Regions from separate parts of the Homo sapiens genome. Here region 1 is linked to region 2. Evidence: promoter capture Hi-C in 16 types of primary human blood cells and fetal thymus (Javierre and others, 2016). All regions are on one chromosome and are shown on one strand. Each heading gives the region's core, a stretch centred on a gene start or on the middle of the fragment in contact. The rest is flanking DNA. Distances are from core to core; before and after follow the strand shown.

Evidence for each region. Contacts are between HindIII fragments. The CHiCAGO score rates a contact against its expected background, and 5 or more counts as called.
Region 1: a contact is called between a fragment that was not itself captured here and the fragment with the promoter of CLCN5 in region 2, in 1 of 17 cell types (fetal thymus). The highest score is 5.9, in fetal thymus.

What each region holds. Positions count from the first base shown.
Region 1 is chrX:49,875,510-49,879,402 of GRCh38, forward strand. It overlaps USP27X-DT (USP27X divergent transcript), which reads right to left and starts at 3,847. Exons shown (of 2, transcript NR_026742.1): 1 at 3,582-3,847; 2 at 1,215-3,238. RefSeq lists a silencer at 3,797-3,893. The HindIII fragment of the contact is 6,269 bases long and covers 1-3,893 here.
Region 2 is chrX:49,920,977-49,924,824 of GRCh38, forward strand. CLCN5 (chloride voltage-gated channel 5) reads left to right here and starts at 1,620. Exons shown (of 15, transcript NM_001127898.4): 1 at 1,620-1,816; 2 at 2,431-2,506. RefSeq lists a silencer at 1,882-1,931. The HindIII fragment of the contact is 4,286 bases long and covers 1-2,383 here.

The DNA.
Region 1 (3,893 bases), core at 476-2,975, 45 kb before region 2:
GGGTGTGATTGGCGGGGGAGGGAAGAGCTTTAACTTTTCATGTTATGCCTTGTATACCTTGTTATTAAAAAAACACGAATATTGTATATATTACTTTTATAATAATAAATATAAACTAGCAACTTTTAAAGTGGAATGTGCATCACCCTGGAGTACAGGAGTTTTAAGGGGATCAATTTCTATATCCTCAAATTTCCTGTGTAGTCTTTTAAAATTGACCTGCCAGAGAACATACTTGCAGTGTAGGAATCAAACTGGTTCTCTTTTTCTATCTCCCCTTTCACAATGGTCCTTTTTGCACTTTACAAAAGAAAAAGCATATCTTTTACCTATCCTGAATCTTAACCTGGGTGCGCTGCCCTGTGATGTAAAATCCTTGGGGCACAGGAGAGACAATTCCGAACAATGCTGACGATGGTAAACAAACAACTTGCTCTAACAAATGAATGGGGATAAAATCCTTTTGCAACTCAGATGGTTTCCAATTCTTTGCTTCCAGTAGAATTGAAGAAAAAACCTATGAAGTTATCAGCTGATAAATCATGAGAAATAATTTTGAGGATAAATCATTGTGTAATTTCCCCCCATATATCTCCAAAGGAATTCAAAGACTTGCGTGCATTGCTAAAACAAAATGTCCATTCCTATTCACTTATTCATATAAATGAGGTTTCTGTGTGCTAACATTTAACCAAACAAAAAATAGGAAGAGAATTGATGCTGAAGCCTATCTCATTCTAGCAAAAAGCAATGTTTATCCATGGATACACCCATTAATTTTTTTTAAAAAAGCCCTATCTACAATGAACTTTTGTTTTACGTTTAATAATTACCTATCAAAATTTGTAATATATTCACAATGTTTTGATCCATTTTATTCTAATACTAATTGTCATGATAATTCAAACAAGAGCAAATTTTTAAACAACACTTAGAGCCTTATAATCAGAGGAACATTTAAAGAGCATTTAAATTGAAAAATATATACACATTTTTGCTGCAGAGAAATACGATAGGATAATCAAAAACATTTCAAGTGAAAAAACAGACAATTATTGAGACAAAATTCTGTTGGAAAAACAGAATGGAATTAAGAGCTGAGAAAAGGGAAAATGTACAACTTCCAAGTATCAAAGAAGAGCTCAGTTATACATTTTTAAAACAGATGATGGTGGCTCTCAAGTCACTAAGGTATTTAGGTTTCACCGGATTCATGTGAAATAGTGACATAACAGTTTTATTTTTGAATATTAACATTTGTCACAAATTACATTATTTGTAGCCAATTGACATTTGTGATGCAAAATATCAGACATCAACCCAAAAATGTGTGAAGGAGCACACGTTTTTCTTAATATTTTTAGAGAGCATTTTATATAAACCAATAGTTTTATATAAACATACAAAACATATATGAGGAATTGTCATTTACTCTTTTGCCACCTTGTGGTCAGAGTTGGATTTATCACCCAGGTGCATCTACTGCGAAGGAGAGCTGTCTCTCCTAAGGATAGCCCCAACTGCCTGCATTCTGTCAGATCTTTGTGAGGCAGAGATGGTAACATTTGCTAGGATCTGGGTCCAGATCCACATAAGGACAAAGCATCTAAAGATTTTGGTGACACCCTCCACACGTGATTCAAAACAAAAGCATCATGTAATCAGGAAATGAATGTAAGGAAGTACAACAAAGTTCTGATTTTTCCCACGAGGACTACTTAAAAAAAATCAAATGTCAAACTGTTTCTGGTATTTTTTCTTTTTTGATTTTTTGTCTTTGGTGCCTCTTCTCTGCTAGTGACATAGACTTTCCTTAGTGTGCCTTTTGGGGAAGCCATCCCTGATTTCAGTAGCCCTGGAGTAAGTTGGAGTGCTGTGTCCACAGCTCTTGGTACATCTGGCCCTCGGTCAGTGCAGAATAAACATTTGTTGAGTGAATGGTGACAGAGCCCTCCATTTTCAGAACACGCTGGCCTGGGCAGAGTCCAGGTGGACCTATGGGCTTCTGCAGGAAGTTGATCACTAAGTCAACAAGTTACCATGGCTAATCTTCAATGGTAGACAGTCCCAGGTACACAGAGATCTTTAGGTCTTTTTGTTGTCAGTCTGGAGGTGGGATGAGAGTATCCTCCACCCCCTCATCCATGACCTCGGTTGTTTTTAGCAGCAGCAGCAGCAGCAGGATTCCTTCAGTGAGTGTGCTAGTTGCAGTTCCTCTGGTTGCAGGCCACAAAGGGCAGGCATTTATTGAAAGGATGCTGGGGTGCTTCAAGGAATTGAAGCAAGAGCTGACTCAGGAAGGGTAGGGCCCAGGGCAACCCTCAGTTTTATGGGAACCACGCATCCTCCTTTCAAGGGCTCCTGATTCCTGAGGCCCAACTCCTGCTGCTAACCCTAGGAGGCCTCCCCATCCCCTCCCTAGAGGAAGGGGCCAGGTGGAGAGCTGATGTCCAGTGCTGAGCAAGGAGAATGTTGCTAGGGTATGTATACTCAGGCAGCACAGCCACACAAGCCAGACAGCGTGCACTAGGCTACAGCCAGCCACCACCAGGATTAGGGGACTAGACTCTTCCTAGAACACTCTTTCTCCTCCTACTCCTGTCCTGATGCCTGCCCTGGGCTGCACTCTCTGGGACCAGCAGCTACAGCCCGACACCCTCGAGCCATGACCCAGGTCTGAGCCACTTGCTCTGGGCACACTCCTCGTGGGCTCTGGGGTGCTGCTGCCCAGTGCCAGCAGCCCCTTGGCACAGGGGTTCCCAGAGGCCTCTCAGCCTCATGTCCGACTCCCTCTCCCTGCTGGCAGCTCCACAGGCTTCTTTCCACTTCCACCTGCTGCCCCCCTCCCCCGGGATGCTGCCAGGGCTTAAGGGTCTTGGGAGTGTGTCCTGTAGTTTAGGCCCCCTCTCAGCTGTAGGGGAAGTGCCAGCTGTAGGGATGGCCTTGTCGTGCCTCGTCCCTCCAGCTGGCCTTGGAGAGAAGAGGTGGATTGTGCCATCGGGCTGCTCAGCGTCTGCTGGGCCAGGAGGCCGGCTGTCAAGCCATTAACCCACCCGTGGCCTTGGGAGCCCAGGAGGACGCGAGCAGCAGGCCCAGACCCTGCAGAGCGCTGATAAGATGGGCCAGGGACGCGCCTCTCCAGGCCCAGCGGCCTTGGTAGCCCGGCCCCCCCGGAGCTGGGGTCCAGGCCTCCCCAGAACTGCAGCTGGAGCTTCATCCTTTTCGGGAAGCGCAGGACCTGGCGTGGGAAGGGAGACAGGGACGAGGCTAGAGGCAGGCTCGGCCGCCGAAATGATGGCCTGTCACGGCTTCTGCCTGCGCTCCCTAGGACCCCCCTCAGAGGGGACATTTCACAGCCTCAGAAACATTTCTGGACTTGGCACCCGCTCGGCCCCCAGCCCCGCAGTGGCCGAGGGAAGCCTGCATAGACGAGGGGAAGGACGAGGAGAGGGGAGGAGACGATGAAGGGGGTCAGAGCAGCGATTGGAGCCGAGAGCTGGAAGCGCCTTAAAGAGACTGCGCGGTCCCCGCCCCCCTTCCCGCCAGCCTCAATGAATTAGAGCTGTGTTTCCCAAACTTGCCTGATCATAAGCAGCCTCTGGGGCCCTAGTTAGAGATACAGGTTCCGGAGTACCTCCCTTCGAGATTCTGATTCAGTAGGCCTGCGGGTGGAGCCAAGGAATCTGTAATTTTAACACGCTCCCCACGTGATTCTCGTGAACAAGCAAGTTTGGAAAATACTGAATTAAAGGAAACGGGGCCTGGCTGCAGAAGCAGCCTCCACTAGGGGGCTTCGGCGGGAGGATTCCCGGGGGCGTCGCCTGCTTCCGCCGCCGCCTCCTTCAGTGAAAGTCCCTTTTGGGTCCAGCTGCCACAGCCACCGCGCTCCCTCA
Region 2 (3,848 bases), core at 370-2,869:
ATTTTGGACTGAAAAAATAAAAATCCGGCCATTCATCAGGCCGGAATAACACACAGATAAAACCAGATGCAAATTTAACAGAGAACAATATTTCTTTGGCGGACATATTGCAGCTGTAAAGTGGTAACGATGTTTTTATTTCAGTGACCACCACTTTTTTATTCACTGAGAGACTTTGTTCTCTAAAATCGTAGATTATCAGAAACTTTTCTGCTTGAAATCGTATCAGTAAGAATGAAACATCCCACATGCATCTGGAGGACATAAGTTTCTTTGACACAGAGAAGCAGCCTCAATTTCCAACCCAGGTGCAGAGCTTCAGATAAGGGGTATCTGGACACAACATTCCACATCTATCTTTATTTTGTGGTTCCCAAGGAAACACAACTCTGGGTTCACTTTGCAGTTCAGACCTGATGGTGACCCCAAATGACAGTACTGCTTTGCTTTGAGCTTACCAAAAACACTGCTTTGTTTAAAATTCACCTAAACTCCACTCTTCTCTCCAATCCTATAATGACTCCATGTTTTTCTGTTTGATGAAATGCCTACCGTGTGCAGTCTCTCATATTGCAATGGGTCAAAGCCTGACTATGTCGGATTACAAATTTGTCCCCGGTAGCCTTATGCTGATTGGGCTAGGATAGGGGTTTTTAAATCCCTGACCACTTAGCTTGTCCAAAGTAGGCATTCCAAATTGTTCACTGCAGTAGAGTACCCTGGTTCTAGTTAGATTACTTGGATTATATGGATTCCAGTCTCAGGTCTGCCAAGAACTAATTAGCTGGATCATCTTAAGTGAGTCAGTGCACCCCATTTGGCCTAAGTTTTCTCTTCTGCAAAACGGTGTGCTGTTTCTTTCAAACCTAGGGTAAGGGCTTTGGAGTAAGTTAGACCTAGGTTGGATTCCCAGTTCTACCACGTACTAGTCCTGTGACTTCAGCTTTTCTGAGCCTCTGTTTTGTAATGATTAATATGGAGATAATACAGTACTAACAACTGCAGTATAGTTTTTGCAGCGTTGCTGGAAACATCAAGTTGGCTGTTAAAAGTATCACTACGTTTGATCACTATTCCTATTCCTACTATTATATGAGTTTAGACAAGTTACTTAACCTTTCTGTGCCTGTGTATTTTTATGAGTAAAAATGGAGAAATAACCCTCGGGGTTATTGTGAACACCAAATGAGACGAAAAAAGTAAAGGGGTTAGGAGAGTGCCTGGCACATAAGAAGCAGCTCAAATTATGTGATCTAATGTTATTAGTATTAGATTTCTACTACTAATTACTCTGTGGGCCGAAAGCTCAGGATAGACAGTTTCATTCTAAGGACAAACCTTCTCCCCAGCAAAAAAAGGCACTGCAAGCTGGAAATAGTGAAACACAATGGGGCATTGCGTTTTCAAAGGCAACTGACACGCCCAGCACTGGGATAGGACCCGCCCGCCCAGTCCTCATTAAATATGGCAGCGAGCGGGGCCGACGTACTGCGGCTGCGCAAGTTGAAACTCCTCCTGGCAGCTCCTCCCCGGCGGGCCTCCCCTCATCTCGGCTGGGTAGAGGTGCCGGGTGTGAGCTCGGCGTGGCGCGCACGCGCAGACGCTGGCTGGGCTGAGCCGATACTCGCGAGGCGCCCTGTCACATGAGCCGCGCGCCCGCTTCGCTCCCCCTCCTCCCCGGCTGGGCTGTGTGAATGAAGCTCTGCCGGCTACGTGGGGCGCTCACTCAACTTGGTGTCCTGGACGCCAGAGCCGACCGAGCGCGCTGCCCACCGGCGGCGGACACGGGCTCCGCCGCTCCGGACCTCGGCGACAGGTAAAGGCAAACGGGCTGTCCCTTCCCCAACAGGTCCTTGGCGGGCCGCTGGCCCCCGGCCCACCCCCGGAGCACCCCCTAAGCGCAGCGACACAGGGGAAGCGCAATCCCGCTGGCTTGGACCCCCGGAGATGGGGCTTCCCCGCGCCCGGCGTTGGCAGCCCGGCGCTTAGAGGAGGTAGACAGGCTAGTTCCAGCCAGTGCTGAGCGGCGTCTTCCCGGGAGCCCAGCCCTGTTCTCCGAGTTATGGTCCCTGGGTTGCCCGAGCGAAGTTTCCTTGCGGAGCGGCGCCAAGCCCGCCCCGCTTTTGAATCGGAGTGTTTAGCCGCCTGCGTCCCCTTTCCCGGACTGGGGTAGGGTGACTTAGGCTGGCAAAGCTCAGCCGAGGCCCGGCTCTTCTCCCTCCGGCTCTGGACTTGCCGCTGGTTTTGTATGGGTCTTAGCAAAGTGGAGAAACTCTCGGAAAAGTAGTTGCTGCGCTGTTTTCCTTTTGCCACTTAACGCGCGTAGCTGGTTCTCTCCAGACTTTCGAGCCTTGCTCTTGAGCGCCTTGATCCACACGGGAAAAGCTTTGCCTTTACATTGACGCACGTTTCCTTTGATTAACATTTCAGAGCAAATCAGTTGCCTGGAGTTCCCAGTGAAGTTGTACCTGTGCCCGTGCGATAACGTCAGTGGAAGCTGCCCCGAGTAAGTGAGGGAAATCTAGAAGTTTGGAGCATAAAAAACCAGCACGAATCAACTTTACATAAACTTCATACATTTATTAGCAACTGCTCGGGTTTAACTTCAGGGATGTTAAATTTCGCCTAGTCCCACGGGACGATGATCATTACTTCTTAACTGCACGCGAAATAGGAGAAGAAAAAAGGCAAATCAAAACAGACTGTCCCAGGTCTCAGAGAAGTCATCGGAGCGCTTTTTCCTGCTGAATTCACCCTAGGAGTTTGTGAGTTCCTAGTTTTCTTGGACTTCGCGAACTTTTCCTTGTCCAAAGCACTGTCTTTTCTCTGTTGGTGTTTTGGGACTGGTGTACACATTAACCCTTTTGTCATTAAAGAAGGCCAACACGATTCTCAAGCTAGTATTAGCCTTCAGTGTTTGTGCTTTAGCACTTTCACTTAGGAGGTGGAGGTGTTGGTTGTATAAAAGATATGGAAATAACAATCTACTTTGATGTTCACCAGGTCAAAAAGGTGAAGACTTTTAGAAAAAACAGATTGGCTTGTATGCTAAGTAGGGAAGACCAGTTTATTAACTGAGATCTTGTTTAAATGGGCAAGCAGAGTGTTAAGCCTCTAAGTCAAACTAAGTCGTCAGACCTCTCATTTTTTCTCCCATTCCTAGCTCCTATTTTTTTTTTTTTTTTTGGTTTGAGCCGGCTCTCGTTCTGTCGCCCAGGCTGGAGTGCAGTGGCACAATCTTGGCTCACTGCAACCTCCGCCTCCCTCCCGGGTTCAAGCGATTCTCCTGCCTCAGCCTTCCGAGTAGCTGGGATTACAGGCGTCACTTGTAATTATAGTGCACCGCCATACCTGGCTAATTTTTGTATTTTTAGTAGAGACGGGGTTTCACCATGTTGGCCAGGCTGGTCTCGAACTGACCTCAGGTGATCCGCCTGCTTCGGCCTCCCAAAGTGCTGGGATTACACCGCACCCGGCCCCTAACTCCTTTAATATCTTTGCAAATATTGTCCTAGGACTGGATTTGAAGTTTTAACAACAGGAATTAGCTGAATTAATTTGGTTTTCTTTAAACTGGTATTCCATTTTTACATTTTTCTTCTTCTTTGGTTCATTTTCCCCCTGATTATAAAAGCAATATACGCTCACTATAGGAAATTTGCAAAGGGTGGGAAAGTATAATGACACAAGGAGAGAGAACTACTACTCAAAGGGTATCATCACTCTTCACTTTTTATTCCGCTTCCTTTTTTTTCCCCTATACAAGATCTGTTTCCAAACTTTATTCATAAACTTTCCTCTCCTTCTACTGATTTTTAAATGTAAAGTTGGGTATTTTGGGGGTTGGT